2 separate regions of the Homo sapiens genome follow, and region 2 is linked to region 1. The links are contacts of gene promoters, found by promoter capture Hi-C in blood cells and fetal thymus (Javierre and others, 2016). All regions are on one chromosome and are shown on one strand. The core of a region is centred on a gene start or on the middle of the fragment in contact, and the rest is flanking DNA. Distances in the headings are between cores, read along the strand shown.

Region 1 (7,390 bases), core at 3,480-5,979:
CCTGGACACGCGTCCCCCTTTGTCCAGCGTCTCCACACTGTAGGCGCCCTTCCTACCTCTTAGTCACCTAGGAGCCCTCTCGATGACCAGGTCTACCGTCATGATGTCATAGTGCTGGTGGTCAAGTCACCCTTATTTTATCTCATCATGGCCACAAAGTGTGGAGAAGCAGTGCTGGCATATTGTTATCATTGTTCTATCTGGGTTATTAACTATTGTGGTTAATCTCTTCCCGTGCCTGATAAACTTCATCATAGGTATGCATATACAGGAAAAAACACAGTAGAATAAGGTCCAGTCCTACCCAAGTTTCAGGCTTCCACTGGGGGTCTTGGAATGCACCCCCCCCGATAAGGGGGGACCCCTGTGTAAGGAGGGAACCCCGATGCTGATGTTGAGGCTGACGATATTCTGTTCAGGAGGGCAGCTGCGTGTGTTGGCCAGACTTCGCCTCTGCAGACTTACAGGAGGTTGTCCCTAGATCCAGGTTACAGAAGCTGGCCTGTACCCAAAAACCAGTGCGTGCACTGCATGGCTGTACATGTGTGTATGTACGTGTGTGCACCAAGGGGAGTGCGTATGTGGGTGTGGGTGAGCACATGAGTACTTGTACCCATATGAGTGCATGTGTGCATGGCTCTGAGTGTGTGTCTGAGTGCCTGTATGTAAGGGTGTGTGTTTCTGTCTGTGAATGTATGTATACGAGCATGTGTGAGTGTGTAAGTGTGTGTTGCCTGCGTGCGTGCCTGCGGGTGTGTCTGTGTGTGCTGGGAAGGGGGGTGTCAGTCCCATGACTTCCCCAGGTGGCCAGGGGCTGAGGCTGCAGCATGTCCATCCAGATGAGCAGGCTGACCTTCTCTTCAGCTCATCCTGGAAGGTTTTCCCTGGGCCCAGTTTGACCAATGCTTCTTGGGCTGGGCTGTTGGTGTCCCACGCACAATATTACTTATGACTAAGGATCCTTGCTGCAGAAAATGGTGACTGCATCTGTCCTGACAGTAACAACCCTTCCCACCGTCTGTCATCCAGGACGAGGCTGTGGTGGGGACATAAAGGGGACTGGGGCTGGATTGGGAGCTGTGCAGAGGCCCATAGGGATGGGGCTATTAGATTCTCTAGAGGTTCTATTGGAATGGGGGTTAAGCTACCCTGCCAGAAGCAGGTGGGTGCTTTCACTGGGGTCCTCCCATTAGAGCAGGAGCCCCGGGCTCTGGGACCAGCCATGTCTGCCACACTGATAGGTGACTTCTGACCCTCTCCACCCTACAGGGACCCCCCAGTTCTCACCAGCCCTCTGGAGTCCCCCAACAGAAACATCTAGGGCAGGGCATCGGGAGGCAAAGTCCAGAGCAGGAGGATAGGAGGCAGCCCAGGGGCTCAGGCACAATAGCATTCAGAGGACGTGAGGCCGGCATAACCTCATTGCCTAGTCACAAGTCACAGGTGGGCTCTGTGGGGCTTTTGTAGACTCTGAGCTCTGTCTGGGCCACAGTCATATCCAAACTCCCCTTGGATCCTGACCTGCAGGCAGCATCTCCAGATCTTAGGACCCCAGTCTGGGAGCCTGCAGAGGAAGACATGAGGTAATAGCGAGGAGGCGGCAGCCAGATGTGTGGGACGGTCAGTGTCATGATGCAGAGGCCCTGGTCAGCAAGGAGCAGGATTGGAAACCCCCTTGGCTCTGCGCATCCTGAAGGGGAAGGCGCCTGGTGCCTCTCTACCCTTCGATGTAACTGACGCTGTGGGGTATAATTATTTTCCTCCCTCGGTGCGAGCTGACACAGGCAGCAGCCCTGCGTGGTAGGAAGATGAGCAATAAAGCATTCTGAAATGAAGGCTCAGTGATCCGGAAGATTTAAAGCACCCTGCGTAGGAAGCAGGCTCGGGCAGCTCAAAGCTGGCTCCAGTGCCGGCCAGAGAGACGTCTTACAGCCCCCTCTTGGGTGATGGCTGTGAGGTATGGAGGGGGAAGCAGGCATCAGCATCCAGATGTTGACTCCTAGAGAGGCCTGAGGGTGGTAGGTGACCTGGGCAAGACATCAGGAGCCTAGGGCTGTTTTATTATTTGTTTCGTAGGGATGTTCAGGATTAAATATTTAAAGACTTTTAAAAATCAAGGCATAACATATGCAATAAAATGCACGCATCTGAAGTGTGCAGCTGGATGCATCTCACAGGCACAGACATGCAGGAAACCTCTATCTCATCACAGAACATTTCCACATCCGAGAGGGTCCCCTCGCCCCTCCAGTCAACAACCCCAGAAACAGCAGCAATGAAGCTGTTGGCATAGATGGTTCTTGCCTGGTTCTGGGCAGATAGAAACGGCCCCATGCAGCATGTACATGTGCGTGGTTGCCTTCTTTAGCTCAGCAGTAGGTCTGTGAGATCCACCTGTGTTGTGGCATGCCAACAGCTCTTTCCTTTTCCTTGCTGTGTAGAATTCTTTGCATGAATATAATGGGATTTACTGCACATGTTACAGTGAATGGGCCTGGGCTCCCAGCCTCCTGGTCCCCACCAAAGGCAAGCTTCTTCCTCTCCCATCTGCTTCCCATTCTCCTGCTGACCGCAGTCTCTGTCCATCCTCCCAAGCTCTCAGAATCTGAGGCTCACGGTGTCAAGAGTGGAGGAATCAAGCCGATCGGGCTGGCTCTCCACCCAGACTGGGGGACTCCTCACTGAAGGGCCTCCACCTGGAAGATCAGGGCATGAGAGCTTCAGAGAGAGGCCAGGGGTGCTGACAGGTGAGCAGCCCTGGAGGCCTCCTGAGGACAGGCCCACCCCGTCCCAGTGCTGGCCTTGATCTATCTAGGGCCCAGTCCCACCGCAGGCTCCCTTGGGCCCTTCCAGGGTCTCGGGGAGGAAAGCCCTGGAATGACCTCTCATCATCTCTCATCCTATTCCAGAGATTTCTGGATAACACTTGTGCTTGAGAGGCCGAGCTCATGGGATCCCAAGGAGGCAGAGCTGCTAGAGGGGCCACCTGAGTTCTCCAGTCCTGGGAACACCCCACTTCGCTCTGAACCAACAAAGGCCTCCGCTCTCCCATTCCGAGGTCGTGTCCTGGGATCGCTGTGTTGAGTAATTACTTACTGGAAGCCGTCCCTCCCTCAGGTGGTGGGTGGGCCGTGTGCGCGCAAGTTCGAATTGTGTGTCCACAGAGGGAATATTCATGAACTCAGTGGCGGGGGTGGGGGTGTTTTGGAAGACAGACTTGGATTTCTGAGGGAGAAGATACTTACAAGGCCTTGGTGGCCAGCCAGGTTCCCCCTCAGCCTCTCGGGCAAGGACCCCAGGAGGCCACACATCGGGGGAGGCCTGGAGGCCCTGGGGCCAAGTATTTGGTTCCTGTCGATGAACAATTTAATGAGAGTTTTCAGAAGGGCCAGACAGCCCTGGGATGAATGGCTGATCCCAAAATAGCCTCAGCTGGCACTTGGGCAGCTTAAAAGAGGCTTAAAAACAGAAAGAACCTTCAAAGAAGGGTGCCCGGGTGCCCCTGAAGCACTCTCATGCGGAGGCCTGGGGTTCTGCTCCCCAGGGACGCTGCCCTGCCCCACTCTGCCCTGAGCAGCCGGGCACAGATGCACTCTGTCACATCCCGTCCTGGCAGAGGCCAGAAGGGGCTTGGCAGAAGGAGCCTTAGGTGAGCACCGTTCCCACCCAAAATGCCTGCCCTCCAGTCCGCCACGGTCGGCCCAAGCTCCCATACCACTGCCCATGTTGGAAAAGCCCCTCTTGGCAGCCCCTATCCCCCAGCAGGCAAGAGTGGTCCTGAGCCTGGAAGGAATGTTCTAGATGGGAAGAATTGTCTCCTACTCTCGGTGGGGTGCCCCGGACCAGCTACAAATGGTGAGGAAGACTTGACTCAAGAGTATTACAGCAGGGACAGAGATGGACTCAGTTCTGAACACAGTGGGGACACCTGGGGATTGACAGCCCATGGGCAAAGGGAGGGGCTGTGGATGGAAAATGATGACGTGGAATTCAATCATTTGTCAAGGGGAGGGGATTCTCAATCAGCTCACTTAGGATTCTCTGCTAAAATTGAGTTCAGCAGGCCGTGGTGGAGTCTCGTGGAGAAGAGCTCAGAGAGAAGGGCCCAACTGAAGGGCAGCCAGGGAGGGATCCCTGTTCAGCCACACGGAGGGCCCCTTGTCCTGAACTTCCTCTCGGATTCACTGCTCGCTTCAGCCCAGTTGCCCTCGTTGGCTCCCCTAGCACAGCTGACGTAGCCCTGAGACTTCCTCAAACCCGTTTAAAAGCTGGGGGACAAAGGGGAAGGAAACGCAGTGAGCACACCAGCAGGCTTCTGTCCCCAGCCAGGGCCCGTTCCTCTGGGTGGCCCTGGCTCGGGCCTCCGGTGGAGCCTCCTGCTCTGCGGATCTTCTGGTTTCTCATCTGCCCTCCCCTGAGCCCTGGGAGGACGGCGCTCACCGACACACTGGAGCTGCGCAGTTTCAGGCCACTGTTCCCAGACTTGCACTGACTCCATGATGATCAACTCTGCCCAGGAAGTTGTCTCAGAGGGTCACCAGGAAGTGCACGGTCCAGGTGGGCATTGGGTCATCCCAGCCCCAGAAAGGCTTCAGCATCAGAGGGCTGCAAAAATCTGTGTCCCCTGGCCCCCACGGGACACAGTTCTGCAGATACAGGGCTTCCCAGCAGGGCCCCAGTTCCAGCCCTCCTTGCTTCCAGGCACAGGCACAAGCTTCTTCTCAAAAAGACTGTGAGTGGAAGGGAAGTGGGCCACTTCCGGGCTGAGGTTTCTGAGATAGGGCTGGGCCATCCCCCTGGCCACTTTCCTTCTTTGCCAGCTGCACACAGAGGGCTCTGACTCTCCCTGAACAGCAGAGCCACAGGGGTCCCTGAGTCAGCCAGGAAGAGGGCCACCTGCCCACCAGAAGCACCACATGGAGCTGTTCAGGAAGCAAGAATTAACGGTGTTACATGAAGCCACTGAAATGCGGAGGTTTTGCTTGTTAGATGCTATTATAAGTTCCCTAATATGGCATGTTATAAATCATCTCTGGCTGCCTCTGAATACAGTGTGTTTTCTAAACCAAAAGTCGCAGAGTTTATTCCCGCCTTCTTTAAACCTCCGCAGTGCATGGCTTTCCCTCCTGGATGTCACGCACCTGCCGGTCCCCTGAGCTTTGAGTACTGTCTCCCTGAGCCGCACGGGATGGTCACGCAGGGTCAGGGCCCGTCTGGCCATCGCTGTGTTCTTGGGCCCAGCACAGGCTGTCCCCCGGTGGCTGTTTAGAAGAGGGGCAGGGCTAATAGATCCTAATTGTCTCTGCCATGCTCCTCCTGTCTGTTCTGGGATCAGTGGACGCCTCGTTCCTCTTGTTTTTCATTCGTGGGACTTTCATGGGAAGCTATTTCCCTGACGGCTGTTTGCACTGATTTTTCTGAGACGAGCAACATCCTTTGCTTCTTTTCCTCTAATCATCTGGAAATGCTGTGTCTCTTGGCATCGCTGTCTTGCCTGTCTTCCACCCACCAGCTGTCCAGCTCAGAGCACTCTCAAGAGAGTTAGCTCTGGAAGAAGGACACAACCCCCTTCAGAAGGTTCTGAAATGTAGAATGCTGCCTCTCCCTGGGGCTGGGGAGTTAAGGGAAAGCACGGTGTGGGAGGGAGAAAAGCAGGACTCACCTCTGCAACCCGAGGCTGCCTGCCGAGCAGGACAGGAAAGCAGGAGGTGGGGGGAGGAGGAGAAAGACTCCTTTGGGGGCAGGAGCCTGAGTTCATATCCCGCTCAACCACGGGCTCGCAGATCCCCAAACTAGAGGAGATCCGAGGTGCAGGAAGAATGAATACCCAGTGCTTGCTCCCCTTTCAGGCAAAAGAATCATTCTGTTCATTTGACAGATGAGAAAACTGAGGCCGAGGGAGTTCAGGTAATTGGGAAACTAAGACTCAGCCGGGAAAGTGATCTGGTCAGGACACACGTGGAGTGGTACACGATGGATGCAAACCCTAGCTCCTCCGACTGCCCAGCTCTGCCCCTGACCACACCTTCATGGTGTCCATGGATATGTTCGAGAAGGATGGCAGCCCTGGCCTCCTGCCTTGGAGCTGGCCCCTCCCGGCGATCCAGCCCTCATCTCTAAGAAGGGAAAGCCCAGCCCCGTCACATCCTGGCCACGCCCGACTGTCTTCACGCTCCTGGGGCTCGCTCTTGGCTCCCAGACACCCCATGTTCACTGTGCCCCCCGGGCCTGGTCTTTGTCTAGGGCCTCCTCCCTCCTTGCTCAAGCTGATTAAAGCTGATCTCTGTTCCAAGCAATTAAACTCCAACCTGAGACCCTGCCCCTGGTACCGCCCAGGGCTGCTGTTGGCTCCACGGAGACAGCGTCTTTCTTTGCACAGCTGTACATGCGGAAGGGATGGGCTCGTTCGGAGTCAAGATGGGGTCATTTGGGACAGTTCTGGACTGGGCCAAGGTCAGGAGACCTTTCCACCATTGCAGTTTCCTTCTAGTGTATAAGATACACAAACAGCAACACATCTGCCTCTAAAGCAGGGGAAAAAGAACAAGAAAAGCAAACTCCTTCTTAAAGCTTATTAGGAAGACAACACGTCATGTTAATTCTTTTAGTGGAGTGATGATGCGGGGAGAAACAACACTGCAAGTCCTCAGGGACTCTCCCCCACGTGCTCATGGAGACACTCAACTCTGTTCCAAAGAACAAAGTTGAAATAGTTTGTAGGCGAGAACTTGATGAAAATTTGACATTTGATAAGAAACTAATTTTGGTGTGCCTTTTTAATACCTTAAAACACTATAGTAATAAACAACATCTATAAATGTCAAACTTTTCTATTTTGATTATGTTGCTTTGATTTTTATCAACTTTTTTTTATTAAAAATCCACTGTAAATGAAATAGAGAAGGGAAGATCGGCACAAAAAGATAAATTTTACAGTTTATCAAGATGTAAGCGACAGCATCTCATTTTTTTCAGCACTGGGATTATTATTTTTTGTCTCACTGTGGTTATTATGATGTTTTTATCTTTGTCTTCGAGTCTAGGAAACTTGCAGAGCTATGGGAACTGGGATTAAATTGCAGAGTGAAGGCGGCTTTCGCCTCAGCAGAGCAGAAAGATGCCAAGGTGGGCCAGGGATGGGGGAGGAGGGACATGCTCAGATTCTCTAGCTCTTTGGGTAGCTGCCAGAAGAGTGGAGTTAACTCTTCTAGGACCATAGCCCTTCCCTGGCTAGTGCTAAAGTTCCTCTCTGAACCCCTGTGGGTTCCCCCACACCCACTCCCCATTCTGAAGTTTCACATTTAGTTGAGGCCTATGTCCTATGGCTGTCCAGGCTCCAGTGGGGGATGGATCTAAGTCTGGGTTCCCTGTGCCAAACATGAAGGCAGTG
Region 2 (7,390 bases), core at 1,284-3,783, 210 kb after region 1:
TATCCTCAACACAGCCCAGCAAGTCAGCACCAATGCTAAACCCATCTCCTCCCGCCTGGCTGTTAGGGCATCCGATTGCACCCCGCCAGAGGCACCCCATGTGATGTGCAGCCACATGCCACCTAGGCTCCAGTTACAGATGTGCTGCCCCAGGAAAAGGAGGAGGCTTCCCAGTCCTCATGCCCCTCATGGTAAGAGACTCAGAATTTTTCCAACTGGCCACCTCCAAAAGAGCAAGTCAAGAAACATTTCTCAAGTGACTGTTTCTCCCCCAAAAAATAGGAAGGGAAAGAAGTTTAATGAAATCATATCTGAGAACTGGGGAACCTTGCCCACTACTGCTAGAAACCATGAAGTTTAATGAATTTCAACCTCAGAAACTTGGATTCAGAGGACTGTAATTATTTATCTTGCCTTTGACCTACTCAGCTTCTTCCCAGCAACCATGCAACCCCTGTGTAAGCCCCTATACTGCAAGGAAATTCCTTCACAGGAGTCTCACCTCTCTTAGGGTTTCATCTTTCTTTAGATGGATCATGCCCATTTGCTGTGTAGAACTCTTACTTCTATCACTAGAACTTCTAGTTTTAAATTAGTATTTCTGTTTCTATTTCACTGATGCATTCTCCAAAGACAAGCACACAGGCCTCTCTGAGCACCTGTTCAGTTACTGGTAAAATGTGGATAATGATTCTTACCTGCCAATGATATCAAATGACACCTCAATAACAATACTTATAACAACTGTAATTTTCACTGTAAGTAAATATTTATTGAATGCTCAACATCTGGAAAGCATTCTTTTTTGTTTTTGTTTTTTTTTCTTTGGAGACCGGGTTTCCCTCTGTCATCCAGGCTAAAGTGCAGTGGCACAACCATGGCTCACTGCAGCCTTGACCTCCCAGGCCCAAGCAATCTTCCCATCTCAGTCTCCCAGGTAACTAGGACCACAGATGTGCACCACTACACCCAGATAATTTTTAAATATTTTGTAGAGATTGGGGTCTCCCTATGTTTCTCAGGCTGGTCTCGAACTCCTGGGCTCAAGGGATCCTCCCACCTCAGCCTCCCAAAGTGCTGGGATTACAGGCATAAGCCACCATGCCCAGCCTGGAATGCTCTCTTTTAAGGAATTTATATGTTTGCCTCATTTAATCCTCAAGTACTCATTAGTAAGGTACTATCGGTATTAGTAAGGTACTGTTGGTACAACTGAAGAAAACGCGGCACAGAAATTAAATACCTTGTCCAAACTCACAAAAGTAGTCAATGGCAAAGCTGAGATTGAAACCTTAGCACCTAGAATGTGTGAAGTAGGGCCTAGCCCATGAGCAGGTTCTCAAAACCTATCTGCTAATGTTAACCCAGGTCTGCAGCAAGGCTTACTGATTCGCCATTCAGCCCTACATCCAGTCCCCTCCCTCCTTGCCTTGCACTGGAGTCATTTTTACATCTACTACCATTAGCATTCAGTCAGAATATGAGATGCCAGGAATCTAATTTGACTTGATTAATTGTACTGTAGGATGCCAGTGATATGTGTGGCCCTTGCCTGTGTGATCATTACAAATAGAATACACTAGAGATATTACTTGGGAAATAAGCTTGGATTTGATTGGATGAGAAGTTCAGCTCACTGACAGACCAAGAGAGTGAGTCCAATATGAGACAACCCCAAGGCAGATTTCTTCAGACATGGTCATAGAGAAAAGGAAATAAACAGGTTGAGGGGATGAGTTTGGAAGGAAAGAAGACTCGAGTTCAAATCCTGGGTCTGCATTTCCTCCTTATACGATTTTGGGTAAGTCACTTACCACTCCTAAACTTCGGTTTCCTTTTCACTTAATTGAGAATAGAAATTGCTATCATGGAGGGTGGCTGTGATGATTTAGAGGAGATAAAATTATGCCAAGTGCCAGTGAAGGGCTGAGTATGCGGTTGGGGCTTAGGGCTTAGTCATCCAGGAGAGCCAGTGGAAAGGCGGATGCCTGCTCTTCGTCAGTGCTGCGTGAAAGCAGCAGAGACGGAGAGTTGCCACTGAGCAGCTCCAGCACCACAGCTGGGACTTGGTCCCTGTAAGCTGGCATCCCACCTGTTGTCCCAGAGCCACCTGAGCCAGTCAGTGCGCTCAGAAGCAGAACAGAAGGCAGGAGCTTCACCAGCAAGCTCCATTCAGAGGGAACCTCTCTTCAAAGATCAAGTAAGCCTTTGATCTTGGTGGGAAATTGACTATCCTCTCTCATTCCTCTCTCCTTCCACCACCTGTGCTTCAATTCACTCATCCATCTTACCAGCATTCATGAGGTAGCCAGCCATCTCTCCATCTATGCATGTATCTTGATGTAGGCATCCATCCATCCATCAGACCTGACATCCATCCTTCCACCTCTCCATTTTGCAGAGGAATCACACAGACCTGAGTTGGAATCCTGGGTCTTGCTTCCTAGCCGACCTCGAGCAAGTCACTAACCTCTCCAAGTCCTCTAATCTGTAAAATGAAGGGAAATCAGATGTCGCTGGGATGAGGATTTAAAGAGAGCGTAGACATACCAGTGTCTGGCCTCAGCAAAGTCATTAAATGTTCATTCCCTCTGCTTCTGCAATCTGGTTGGGATTTATGCAAGGAAATAAACCACCGCATCTTTTGCATGACATGTTGAGAAGTGCTTTTTAGAAATTATCTGCGATGTTTTAGTGGTGTGCATCTTCCGGTGGCACCCAGGGCTGGGCAGTGGCCAAAGCAGTTTGGGGTGGTGGTCCCCCCTGGACTCACAGTAGAGAGTGCCATCTAGTGGATAGGCACCTGCCGGGGTCCCCTGTTGGTCCCAGGTCACAACAGCTGAGGTCAGGCAGCTAAACGGCAAGCCAGGAGGTCCAGGCGAACCCAGCCCCCAGACTGTAGGCTGCCCTTTTTGGGATGTAGTGCATGTGCTGTTTTAACCACTCAGGGGACCTGGACTGCCAGGAGCCTTTTGTTTTATGGACAATAGCCAGCTATGTTTTGCCTGCCCCTGCCCAAATCCCCTTTAAACGTTTCTGGGAAAAAGAATCATTCTCGCAGCTACTGTTTGCTGAGTGTCTCTGACATATTAGACATGCGGCTGGGGCTTCAGGGGTTAATGCTCTAACCCTCTCAATGACCCAAGGAGAGACCCAGAACTTGCCCCATTTTCAGTGAGAACACTGAGGTTTGCTGAGGTTGAGTTTCTCATTTAAGGTCCAGGCAGATATTCAACCCCTAAATGTGTAGCCATACTTACCTTCTAGAGCCCCAGATCCCCTTGAAAGAGCAGGAGATAGTTTGAACACTGACTTGACCAAGCCAACTGTAAAAGAAATTTATGAGTCAATCAAGAATATTGGAATGCTACATAGATGGTGGATGATATTAAGGAAAGGCTATTAATTTTTTAACTTGTGATAATGGTGTTGTGGTTTTATTTTTAAGAAACAAAAGCTTCTTATTTAGAGATACAAACTAAAAAATGCTCAGAGGAAACAGGATGGTGTCTGAAATTTGCTTCGAAATAGTCCAGGGGTAGGGGTTGGGCAGTGGGAGTAGAGGGACAGTTTAGGGTTTAGATGAAACAAGAGGGGCCAGGGTTTGACGGCAACCGTGTCCGGGTAATGGCAAGATGAAAATTGAGTAAACAGTAAAAATACGTACTATTTTCTCTACTTTTGTGTTGTTTGCAATTTCCCATAATAAAGGGATTTTTAAATCAACAAGTGAAAATACAGTGCAGAAGATGAAGGGCTGGGGGTGAAGGGTGCCATTTAAAAGAACAGAGGGGCCTGGGGTATGAGAGAAATTTTCTGGAGTAGCAGGGAACTGATTCACAGGGGGCAAATGCCTCAAAGTGAAAAGGGAACTAGAGGGGCTGGATCCAGAGGGAAGAGAATCATTCCACGTTGAGTGGACGGAGGACGATGTACCAGGGTGCAGAGTGTTGCGGAACGAGACACCCGCCAGCTGCCCAGAGACCCTCCTGCAGCCCCCAGCGCTCCTCTCCCCACTCTCCCTCCCAGTCCCTGCCTCCCCGAGCCCTCCAGCTCTCTCCCTGACCCCTGGCTGGAAAAGGGCCTGAGGGTACCACTCTTCAAGGCAGAGCGGCCACCTGATGAGCCCTTCCCTGGGACTCTGGTCCCAATTTGGTTACTGGGACAACGCTGTCTCCCATTAGACACGCTTTGAAGGAAGACCCTGGAGTGACCGGCTCAGTCATGCTGGGAAGGATTCAGCTGTCTAGCTTTCAAATGCCTTTTTTTTTTTTTTTGGCTTTTTTATTTCTTTTGGAAAGATAAGAGTTGATGCTTTTACCCTAAAACTGTGTGCCAAGCCGCTCTGGCTATCCTCAGCCCCACTCTTCCCCTATCTCTGTAGCCCTCCTTTCCGTCCTTCATAGGCTGCAAGCTGACTGGCGCCCGACCCCAGGTCCACACCCACCTCCCTCTACCCCCTGGTCCATGCACCACTCCCGGCCTCCTCCCCCACTCTTCTCTTTCTGGCCCCGCTGCAGAGTCTCGGGCCCCTCGGCTTCCTGGGCGCCTGGCCACCACGCAGCGCCTGGAAGTGCTCCCTCCCTCATCTCTCGTTCCCCACTTTGGAAAGCCGGCCACCGGACAGGACAGCTCCCGGGACAGCTCCCGCAGCCTGCTGCATTGCAGCGCAGCCGTCTGTGAGGGAGGGGCGCAACCTGCAGCCCCCGCCCCCCGCCCCGACCACCCCCGCCCAGCAGCCCCCAGCCCCGGCACGGCCGGCTCCCCCGCCGCACCGCACGCATCTGTCGCAGTTAAAAGCGCCGCTGCCAGAGCAAAAGCGCCGGTCCCTCTTGACTGTCCCCCTCCTCACTTTTCGGGCTCAGAAATGTGGCCCAGGCAGCCCCCTTGTGGCACGTGGGGGCGCCACAGACTCTTGGCTGGTGTCTGAAGAATTCAGACTGTCTGATTCCACCGCACCGTGAGTTGGCACAAATCTTCGGTGGCCCAACTCCTACCCGATGCAGAACTCTGCTCAGCGGCCTCTCTGAGTGGGGGGCACCTCTCCCCTCCCCTCTCCCCGTCCACACCTCTCCCTTCTCCCTCCAGGGAGGAAGCGAAGGAACTCTCCTGTTGAATATTGCTCTGACAAGCAGACAGGTGTCTGGCAAACGTGATTGGGGTGGTGGGGGAAGGGGGGGGCCAGGAGGGTGGTGGGAATGGGGGCTTTTCTCGAAATGACGTTTGGTTTCCATCTCTTATCTCACAGATGGGAAACCGAGGTGCGGGGAGGGCCATAGTCCCTGTCTGTGTCAGAGTCAAGGCTGGAGATCCTCCTCCAAGTCCAGCCTGGGGCATTTCCCTGAGGTGCCGGGGCACCCTTAAGACGTACCCCTCTTCCCCCTCCCACTTGTCCAGCCCCTCCAGATCTGGTTCTCCCCGTCCGGAAGCCCTGGAGGGCCCCTGGATGTTCTCTGTCCTCTCTAACTCACTGTCCACACAAACAAGCCCAGCCCCCTCCGTCTCTATCTGCAATCTACTTGCAGACAGGCAGGGCCCTCTCCACATCAGGTTAATAATGCCATTTTCATAAGCCTCTGCCCATAGGTGCTACCACCTAATTTTGAATCTGCCCTTCAAACGGATTGGGCCACAGAGGAGCTGGGATCTCAAGCACCGCTGGGAGGTGCTTATAACTAATCAATCCGTCCCCTGCCCACCCACACCCCCCCAGCACTCGGCACAGCCTCGCTGAGCAGCCTTCAGCAGCAGGGTGTGGTGGGGAGCCTCGGAGAGTCTGGGGTTCCATCCTGGCCCAGCCTCACACCAGCTGAGAGACGGTGAGTATAGGACTTTGCCTTTCTGTGCCTCAGTTTCCTCATCAATCTAATGGGGCTCATGAGACCAGTGTGCAGGGTTATTGCCCGGGTGAGTTCTTTGCAGACAGCCCAGTTCGGGACTTGGCTCCAAGACGGGGCTCCATAAATCTCCATGCCTGCACCCCCTCTTGATCACCTCAATTTCCAGTGTCTTATTCCCTGTTTGTTTCCCCCACCAGACCGACTGAGCTTCGAGGACAGGAAGCCACCGGCATCACTAAGCCACCGGCATCACTTCATCCCCAGCCTCACGCTTGGGACTGGGCCCGGGGAAGGTAGGTACACTGTGGTGGCTTGGAGAATGAGTGCATGGATGGATGTCTGTCCCATAGTCTATGGGATGCCCGGACCCCGCTGAGTTTCTCCTCCCCAGACCCCTGTCTAAGCTGGCCCTTCAAGGAAGCCGCCGGGAAAAACTGTTCCTTTATGCCTTCATGCTTTACCCCTCGTGCTGTTATATACAATGCAAATTCTCGGTCTATTAAATGCAGATGTGGGCTCTGCATGTCATTTATGCTGCCTGCTGCATCTACTGTGAGTTCCACAGGCCGGGGGCTGCCTCCGGCTGACTTGATTTGTGCGATTAAGCCAGCAGAGGGGACTCTGCCAGGAGAGGTTCCCGTTTGTATTGGGAGCAGGGTCTTGAAAGGCCAGGCTGTTTTCTCTCTTGCGACACTTGTTACATACCTCTCTCTCCCTCCCTGGGTCCCACCGTCTACTCCACAAGCATTTATGAAGTGTCTGATGTGTGCAAGCCTACACTTATCTCATTTAGTCCTCACTTCACGCCAGTGACGGAGAAACTCTCATCTCCATTTCACAGGGGAAAAGCCGAGTCTGAAAAGTAAAGGGAATTGTCTTGCAGCTAGAGAGCAGGGAGTCAAGCCGGTCTGCCTGGCTCGGGAGCCCCCAGCCCTGCTGTGGCTGCCTACTGCTGCTGCTGCTGCTGCTGCTGCTACTGCAGGGCTGACCAGGGCTGGCCGGGAGGCCAGCAGCTCCTGCAGAAAAGGCAGGGGGCTGCATACAGAGCGTTCTCCCTAGCAACTGGAAAAGGGGCCATAGAAAACCCAAGAGGGCTGAGAAGCCGCTCAACAGATAGACATGGAGCAGCTGGCCCCAGGAGGGGAGCACCACGCCCTCCCCTGGGCTTTTAGCAGAACAGCAGGGCAAAGGGCTCTGTCCCAGGTCTAAAAGAACAGAGACAGAGGTGTTAGGACAGGTGTAGAGGCGCCCAATCCTGTTCCCACCATTGGTGGGGGTATTGCCATTCAGCACAGAAAGGAGAGGACTGAAAAGAGAGGGAGCCCACAGCCTGCAGAGATCGGAGGGCAGAGGGGGCAAGGGGGCTGCTGCACAGCCGAGGAGGCAGATGCAAAAGGCAGGGGAGGGCTCAGCAAAGCAGCTCTGCGTGCGAGCCCTGAGCAGGCTGCCTGGGGAGAGAGGGAGCTCCCTGTTACAGGAGGCATCCGAGGGGAGAGAGGCAGGCCAGTGCTTGGCTGAGAAGGCTGCAGCACGGTTTCCTGCCCAGGCTG

What was found. The method cuts DNA at HindIII sites, captures the fragments that hold promoters and counts their contacts. A CHiCAGO score of 5 or more calls a contact.
Region 2: a contact is called between a fragment that was not itself captured here and the fragment with the promoter of LINC02285 in region 1, in 1 of 17 cell types (endothelial precursors). The highest score is 5.5, in endothelial precursors.

The regions. Positions count from the first base shown.
Region 1 is chr14:101,118,195-101,125,584 of GRCh38, reverse strand. It overlaps LINC02285 (long intergenic non-protein coding RNA 2285), which reads right to left and starts at 4,729. Exons shown (of 2, transcript NR_146490.1): 1 at 4,441-4,729; 2 at 2,040-2,696. It overlaps LOC124903386 (a long non-coding RNA gene), which reads left to right and starts at 4,289. Exons shown (of 2, transcript XR_007064341.1): 1 at 4,289-4,557; 2 at 4,821-5,071. The HindIII fragment of the contact is 1,856 bases long and covers 4,717-6,572 here.
Region 2 is chr14:100,902,034-100,909,423 of GRCh38, reverse strand. It overlaps MEG8 (maternally expressed 8, small nucleolar RNA host gene), which reads right to left. Exons shown (of 51, transcript NR_146000.1): 6 at 3,261-3,326; 7 at 2,292-2,488. It overlaps RTL1 (retrotransposon Gag like 1), which reads left to right and starts at 5,702. Exons shown (of 4, transcript NM_001134888.3): 1 at 5,702-5,819; 2 at 6,038-6,133. The HindIII fragment of the contact is 1,853 bases long and covers 1,607-3,459 here.